3 separate regions of the Homo sapiens genome follow, and regions 1 and 3 are each linked to region 2. The links are contacts of gene promoters, found by promoter capture Hi-C in human tissues and cell types (Jung and others, 2019). All regions are on one chromosome and are shown on one strand. Each heading gives the region's core, a stretch centred on a gene start or on the middle of the fragment in contact. The rest is flanking DNA. Distances are from core to core; before and after follow the strand shown.

Region 1 (2,855 bases), core at 99-2,598, 540 kb before region 2:
CTCCTGACCTCAGGTGATCCATCCACCTTGGCCTCCCAAAGTGCTCGGATTACAGGCATGAGCCACCGTGCCCGGCCCCTTACGGTTTTCCTAATAACGTTTTCTTTTCTCTAGCTTACTTCACTGTAAAGATACAGTATATAACACATAAAACATGAAATTTGTGTTAAGCAAATGTGTATGCTATTGGTAAGGCTTCTGATCAACAGCAGGGGATTAGTAGTAGTTAAACTTTTATGGAGTCAAAAGGTTACAAGCAGATTTTCGACTGGCAGGGTCAGCACCCTTAACCCCTGAGTTGCTTAAGGGTCACCTCTAATCCACTGGGCAGGAGGAGGTGGCAGGAAAAGGGCATAGATGGAGAGAGCCTGGTAAGGTACTGATAATCACTAACCAAGCAGTAGGCGATGGGTACAGAGAGGTTATAGTATCCTCTCTACCACTGTACAGGTGTAAAATTTATGTATTTATTTATATTTTTTGAGAGTGTGTCACTCTGTCACCCAGGCTGGAGTGCAGTGGCGTGATCTCGGCTCACTGAAACCTCCCTCTCCCAGGTTCAAGCAATTCTCCTGCCTCAGCCTCCTGAGTAGCTGGGATTATGGGCTCGTGCCATCACACCCAGCTAATTTTTGTATTTTTAGTAGAGACAAAGTTTCATCATGTTGGCCAAGCTGGTCTTGAACTCCTGACCTCAGGTGATCCGCCCACCTTGGCCTCCCAATGTACTGGGATTACAGGTGTGAGCCACTGCGCCCGGCCTAAAATTTTCCATAATAAAGTTTTTTATAAAATTAAAGTGCACTGAAATCAAATATATACTAGATAAAGGCAGGAATGGGAAAGAGGAACCCTCAGCTATGCTTCCGTGAGGGCCTGCAACCAACTGGAATTCCTTCCATCAACAGATGTGGGCCAAGTTCCCTGATGACCCCCAGCTCCAGCCTCCACAGGTCAATTCAGGAATTGCCATGGCAATATCCCAGTGCTTATCTTTCTCCCTGTGGAGAAACAACGACTAATTAAGAAACTGGATGCTTGGGCTGCCTGTCTTTGCTTTTTTGCAAAGCTCTAATATTCCACCTTCTGTCTATTGTGTGTTCTGTATTTCTGGAGTAGTGGTCAGTTTGATGGACTGGGAAGGTCCCCGCATAGGGAAAACCTCCCAGGGGTGAGTTTCCAGTTAAGAAATCATAGCTCAGTTCTCTCCATCAGCCTCACCTGGTGACTGCCACGCCAGCATGTCCACTCTGGGTAACTTAACATTCCTTCTATGGACTTCAAACTCCTCGCCTGTAAGATGAGTGTCTTGAACAAGATGGATCGTATTATTTCTTTCAGCTCTAAAAGTCTAGGCTACAAACAAATCAACACTCAACACAACTGGCCCTTTCTGCTGAAATGCCTGTACAGAAACACAAATAAAAACCAAAGGAGTATAACCAGAAAGTTCTAGCTCTGTGCATTTCATACGCAGGTGATTTCCTTCCCCATGTAGTCCTCCTAGGTGACATTTCTCACCTTTTGGAAAGCAATCACATTCTTGTCACCACTAGGTGCTCTACTTAAGTGAACTGAGACACTAATTCTTCTGCAAGTCCACAAACCAGACTCAATTTCGAGTTCAAATGACTTAATCTAGGCAAGATGGTAGCTCGATAAATATTAAGCACATTTCTGATTTGCAAGAAGCTTCCTTCAACTGTCATCTGAAACTTAATTGAAGCAGGAATTTATATTTTCAGAAACCACTATACTAAATTAATTCCATGGAACACTTACTACTCTCAGAATTTGTCTTATTACATATAACCAAACCGCTGAAACATTGTTCTTAGAAGCCTAGAATTTGAATACAACAACACGAACAACAACAAAAAATATAGTTTTTTTTCCCCCAGTTCCTAAATTTCTGACTTCGGACAAAATATGACAGAACACCCACACTCATTTTCCCTCGATCAATTCATCCTCGAAGTCAACTGGTATTCACCAAGTGCCTGGTATGAGCCAAGCCCAGTTCTGAGGCTGCGTAGATGCATTTCCCACTTGTCACGGAGCTCACACCTTATGTCAACCAATTTGACAAACAAACAAACAAAAAATCAACGTCTTTTGGAAGTTTCTAATTAATTAGGCCCAGCATTGACAAACCAAAGTGGGTGACAGCTGAAGGGGTGGGGAAGGGAACAGGTAACCATCTTCCTTCCACACCAAATGCCCAGGCACCCTGGCTCCAGAGAAGAGGGGACCTAAGTACCAAGAGGCCAGTGTGCTCTGTGGACCTCAAAGTTCACCTGACTTGCTTCAGAAAGTTTATTTCCAAAACTTCCCAGATATTTTGACAATTTTCCTAAGATAGCCCTGCCAGGGTGAGTATGAGTGTGTGATCAGATGGGTAATACTTGCCTGGCCTGGGGCCCTTTTCTAACTGGTCAATGTTGTTTAGTGTGTGTGTGTGTGTGTGTGTGTGTGTGTGTTTGAGACAGAGTCTCGTTCTGTGTGTGTGTGTGTGTGTGTGTGTGTGTGTGTGTGTGTGTGTGTGTGTGTGTGTTTGAGACAGAGTCTCGTTCTGTTGCCTAGGCTGGAATGCAGTGGCATGATTTCAGCTCCCTGCAACCTCCGCCTCCCAGATTCAAGCAATTCTCGTGTCTCAGCCTCCCAAGTAGTTGAGTTCACAGGCATGCACCACCACACCCAGCAAATTTTTGTATTTTTTAGTAGAGACAGGGTTTTACCATGTTGGCCACGCTGGCCTCAAACTCCTGGCCTCAAGTGATCCATACACCTCAAGCCTCCCCAGGTGTTGGGATTACAGGTATAAGCCACCACGCCTGGCCATAACTGGTCAATTT
Region 2 (2,700 bases), core at 142-2,641:
AAATGAGAGACTCTACATAAAGCCTTAGCTCAGGGGCTGGCACTTGTACGCCGTTAGCTGTTACATTATCCTTATTACTATGTTAGTTAAGAAGTGGCTCCCCGAACCAGCTGCAACAGAGTCACTTGGGGAACTTACGTGTGCAGAACCTCCAGGGATAGAGCTCAAGAACCTGAACTTTTTTTTTCCCCCTCTTTTTCTTTTTGAGAGAGTTTTGCCCTGTCGCCCAGACTGGAGTGCAGTGGCACAATCTTGGTTCACTGCAGCCTCTGCCTCCTGGGTTCAAGCGATACTGGCGCCTCAACTTCCCAAGCAGCTGGGATTACAGGTGTGTGCCACCATGCCTGGCTAACATATGTATATATTATGTGTGTGTGTGTGTATATATATATATAAAATACATGATATATAAAAATATATATAACATAATAATATGTAGTATACATAAATGTATACGGTATATATAATACATATATATAATTTTTTTTTTGAGACGCAGTCTCACCCTGTCGCCCAGGCTAGAGTGCACTGGCGGATCTCGGCTCATTGCAACCTCTGTCTCGCGGGTTCAAGCGTCTGTCCTGCCTCAGCCTCCCGGGTAGCTTGGACTACAGGCGCGCACCACCCCACCCGGCTAATTTTTTAAATTTTTTGGTGGAGACCGGGTTTCATCATGTTGGCCAGGCTGGTCTCGAACTCCTGACCTCGTGATCCGCCGCCTCGGCCTCCCAGAGTGCTGGGATTACAGGCGTGAGCCACCGCGCCCAGCCAAACCTGCACTTTTAAAGCTACCCTAGGTGACCTGACAGTGTGGCGCAGGTCTGTTGACTGGCTCTACGTGCCAACGATATCACACAAACGCTCCGTGCTCGGTGTCTCGGGGCCTAGTTCAAGTCCCAGGTCAGCCACTTCCCTGGAAAGGCCAGCTTTCCACTGGGGATAACAACAGGGCAGCAACATCGACTCTGCAGCGCTGTAAGGTTCCAGGGCAGGGGAGGCGCTCACCAGCCAGACTCATGCTCCACCGCTGCCCACGGCTGCTCGCTCACACGCGGGCTAGGCACAGCGCGACCACGTTTGCCCGGCCTCTTCCAGGCAGACGGTTTTCCCTGGCCCTGAGGCCGCCGGTGCCGCCGCTGCCGGCCTCGATTCCCCCGGGTGCAACGCCCCCAGACCATGCTTCCCGCCGGGCACGCAGGGGGCGCACGGCGCCCGCCGCCCAGCCCGGAGCTCGCCGCCCGGCCCCCGGCCCCCGGCCCGACTCGGCTTCCCCTCCCCGGTAGCGCCCGACTCGGGGCTCACCATGGCAGCCGCTCTGCCTCCGGGGCTCAAACTCCGACTTCCTGGCCCCGCGGCCGGGGATCAAGCGTGGTCGGCGGGTCAGAGGTCAAGGAAAGCCGCAGAGAGCGCGTGCGCGATACGGCGCTGGGCATGCGCATTGCCTCAGTCTAAGGGCGGGCCACCGGGAGCGTCTTAGCGGCTCGGGGCGGGGTCGGAGGCGGGGTTTGACTGAGCCTGCGTCGGGCTCTGGATAACTGGGGGCGGGCTTGGGAGGGCAAGGGGCGTTACCGGGAGTCTCAATTGCCCGCGTGCTTACCCCAGTGCGCTGGAGCAGCTAAGCACATCGGTCAGACGTGGGGCGATTTCTGCCCTTGATTTTGCCAAAATATTTGGGAATGCAACATTATATGAAATCAATGAACATAATATGGAGTAGGATGCTAAATTCTCAAAAATACTTTAGAAAATAGAAAACTTCAAAATAGGTTTCATCCACATTCCTCCTGCCTGAGAAGCTCGTTCCCTTCTTCAAATCTTTGCTCAAATGTCACCTCAATGAGGCCCACCTGGACCCCTTAAAACGCCGTGACTTGCCCTCCATGAATGAAAAAAGTAACAGCTTTATTGAGATATAATCCATACACTGTAGATTTCATGATTTTCAAGTGCACAGTCCAATGCCTTTTATTCACAGAGCTGTGCCACTGTCACCACTATTAGTTCCAGAACGTTTTCATCACCCATTAGTCACTCCCCAGCCCCCTCCCCCAGCCCCTGTCAACCACTCATTTTTCTCTCTATGGATTCACAGGTTCCGGACATTTCATAGAAATGGAATCATACAAGCCAGGCGTGGTGGCTCATGCCTGCAATCTCAAAACTTTGGGAGGCCGAGGTGGATCGCTTGAGGTCAGGAACTCAAGGCCAGGCTGGGCAACATGGTGAAACCCCATCTCTACAAATACAAAAATTAGCCGGGTGTGGTGGCAGGTGCCTGTAATCCCAGCTACTTGGGAGGCTGAGTGGTGGATCTCTTGAGCCCGGGAGGTACAGGCTGCAGTGAGCTGTGATCACTGCACTCCAGCCTGGGTGACAGAGTCAGGCCCTGCCTCAAAAAAAAAAAAAAAAAAAAAAAAGGTAAAAATGAAAAATGAAAAAAAAGAAGAAATTGAATCATACAATGTGCAGCCTTTTGTGACTGGCTTATCCTCCCTTCTTGTCTCTATTTTTCTTCCAAGACTCTGATCACCCTCTACCATACCACATAATTTACTTATTTATTTTATTTATCATTTTGAGACAGGGTCTCACCCTGTCGCCCAGGCTGGAGTCCAGTGGCACAATCCTGCCTCACTGCAACCTCCACCTCCCAGGTTCAGGCGATGCTCATGCTTTAGCCTCCTGAGTAGCTGGGATTAC
Region 3 (2,700 bases), core at 180-2,679, 560 kb before region 2:
TCAGATGAAACACATCACCCACGACCCTTTGGTGCTTAAGTCAGGGTCAATCAAGCCCACCATTCTCTCTACAGCCTTCAGATTCTGCTCCTTGCTGTCCCCCATCCCACTACAGTCTGTCAAAAGAGGTGAAAATCTCTGAAGGGCCCTCAAGTGAACAAAGGGCCTGCTCCACACACACTCACTGGGCACCTGATGGGCTATTCGATGAGTGGCAGTTCAAAGGACGGAGATCTTGACTCCATATAAAAAAAGGAGGTTTTTTTTTTTGTTTTGTTTTGGTTTTTTGTTTTGTTTTGTTTTGTTTGAGACGTAGTCTTGCTCTGTCGCCCAGGCTGGAGTGCAGTGGTGCGATCTTGGCTCACTGCAACCTCTGCCTCCCGGGTTCATCAAGTCATTCTCCTGCCTCAGCCTCCCACCTCAGGATACCGAGTAGCTGGGACTACAGGCGCATGCTGCCATGCCCAGCTAATTATTTGTATTTTAGTAGAGACGGGGTTTCACTGTGTTGCTCAGGCTGGTGTTGAACATGAGCTCAGGCAACCCGCCTGTCTCACTCAGCCTCCCAAAGTGCAAGGATTACAGACGTTAGCCACTGCGTCCGGCCAAAAGGAGGTGTTTTAAACAATCTGAGGCACCTACAGATGGAACATGTTGCCAGGTGAAGCAGTGGGAGCTACACTCATGGAGATGCCGGGCAGCAGCTGGGGCCATGGCTGACGCAGCCGGGACAGTGCGTGCATTAGGCTGGCTCTGGGGCCGACCCTGCACACTTGCTTCAACAGTCCCTGGGGGACTCTAGGTTGGAAAACCCCTGGTCTCTCTCTCAGAGAATGACTCAAACCCTCTCACCAGCACTGGCCCAGATACCTGGTCTTCCAAGGCATCCAGAGCAGTGCATCTCAGATTTTAATGTGCACACTAATCACCCAGGATTTTTATAAAAATGCAGGTTTTAATATAAGAGGTCTCAAATGGGGGCCCAATTTCTTTATTGCTTACAACCTGGGAGCACCTCTATGGCTTCCCTGAGGCCTACACTTTGAGCAGCAAGAACTTCACAAGTGAGGCAGCATAAGCCCCAAGAGGGGAACCTGCTCACGGGTCCCAAAGCCCAGTCAACCATGCCACTCTGTGCACTGAATTTACTGGAGGTCAGATGCCAGGACTGACATAAGATACTTATCTTGGCAAGTCCTAATTATTCAAAAAAAATTGAATATTGCTATAAGGGATGGTTAACTCGAGATCAGTGATTACAGAATCTTTAAAAAACAATTCAAGGAAAAATCGAATGAGGCCAGGCGCGGTGGCTCACGCCTCTAATCCCAGGACTTTTGGGAGGTCAAGGTGGGAAGATCACTTGAGCTCAGGAGTTCGAGACAAGCCTGAGCAACATGGTGAAACCCCATCTCTACAAAAAATACAAAAATTAGCCAGGTATGGTGGCAGATGCCTGCAGTCCCAGGTACTCAGGAGGCTGAAGTGGAATGACTGCTTGAGCCCGAGAGGTTGAGGCTGCAGTGAGACTTGGCTATGCCACTGCATGCCAGTCTGGGTGACAGAGCAAGACTCCGTCTCAAAACAAACCAACCAACCAAACAAAACTCAACACAGGCCAAAAAGGTAATCAATGGTCTGGGCTTCATTTCAAAGAACCTCAGATTAGCGCCACAGGTGATTCTGGAAGGTTCTCTCAGTAGAGACATTAATCACAGAAGTTAAGAGAGTGGAGCATGTGCTGACCAAGGAAGTGTGCATCAGGTAAGACCAGCGCTGGCCTGTGGGAAACACTGCCTAAAAAGCAGAGTCCCGGGGCCCCTAAGGCAGTCTCCACAGAGCGAGCACAGGTGGGTCTCGGCAGAGTCCCTGAGGCTTCCAGGAGCTCATCACAGTCCACCTTTCTGTTCACCTCGTTTGCACAGGAACCCCAGTCCAGTCAAATGCATGCCCTCACAAGCTGTGCACTGTGCAGACACTGTCCCCACTGTCTGAAATGTTCTTCCTTTGTTATTCTGTTTGCACTGGGCTCCACCAAGTCCCACCTTTCTCTACAAAGTAGTCAGGTGCGCTCCAATTCTCCTCGAAAAGAATGCTGATTGCACTGACTTGTCTCTACCTCGGTCCTTTGAGGGAGGTCACCCTTACGTTATTTTTAACATATATATTGTCTTCAAAACCCAACCTTAAGCCAACGTAGGGTCAGATTCACATTTTCCTCTCTGGGTTCCTAACTCAAGAGTTCACACACGATAAGCATAATTTGCTTTGGGAGAAGAGAAAAAACAATAAAATTTACAAAAAGGATATTGCTGAAACCTTGTCAATCATACTTTTGTAAAAAAAAACTACCAAAACCTTGCAGCAAGTTAATCTAAATCTTCCTTGTGACTTTATAAAATCATCCTGGTAATATCTTACATTCTGACTAGTAGAAAACCTGTGGTTTACCACTTGAGAGAGCATGCACAGAATCAATTTTCACAACACTCAGGCCGTTATAAGGATGGTTTAAAAAAAAAAAACCACATACGCTTCTTTTTTCTTTTAAAACAAAAACCACATAAGTGTTTCTTAAAAAGAGAAATCACCAAAGTTTACAACTGTCATGGTAGTATGTACTAAAAACAAAAGATCCTCAAAAAGCCACACCCCCAAATTAAAGTTAAGAATAAAATTCTAGCTCATTATTCATAGAAT

What was found. The method cuts DNA at HindIII sites, captures the fragments that hold promoters and counts their contacts. A contact is called where the count stands out against the background at its distance.
Region 1: a fragment that was not itself captured here is called in contact with the fragment with the promoter of PAM16 in region 2 in 2 of the 25 tissues and cell types used here (mesenchymal stem cells and mesendoderm cells).
Region 3: a fragment that was not itself captured here is called in contact with the fragment with the promoter of PAM16 in region 2 in 1 of the 25 tissues and cell types used here (dorsolateral prefrontal cortex).

The regions. Positions count from the first base shown.
Region 1 is chr16:3,811,717-3,814,571 of GRCh38, forward strand. The region is part of intron 2 of CREBBP (CREB binding lysine acetyltransferase); the gene reads right to left. Among named protein-coding and RNA genes, the nearest start is that of CREBBP, 68 kb to the right of the region's middle. The HindIII fragment of the contact is 6,097 bases long and covers 1-2,855 here.
Region 2 is chr16:4,349,930-4,352,629 of GRCh38, forward strand. PAM16 (presequence translocase associated motor 16) reads right to left here and starts at 1,392. Exons shown (of 5, transcript NM_016069.11): 1 at 1,303-1,392. The coding sequence starts at 1,305. All of the region lies in intron 27 of CORO7-PAM16 (CORO7-PAM16 readthrough), which reads right to left. The HindIII fragment of the contact is 27,496 bases long and covers 1-2,700 here.
Region 3 is chr16:3,787,371-3,790,070 of GRCh38, forward strand. The region is part of intron 5 of CREBBP (CREB binding lysine acetyltransferase); the gene reads right to left. Among named protein-coding and RNA genes, the nearest start is that of TRAP1, 71 kb to the left of the region's middle. RefSeq lists enhancers at 486-545, 616-915. The HindIII fragment of the contact is 10,000 bases long and covers 1-2,700 here.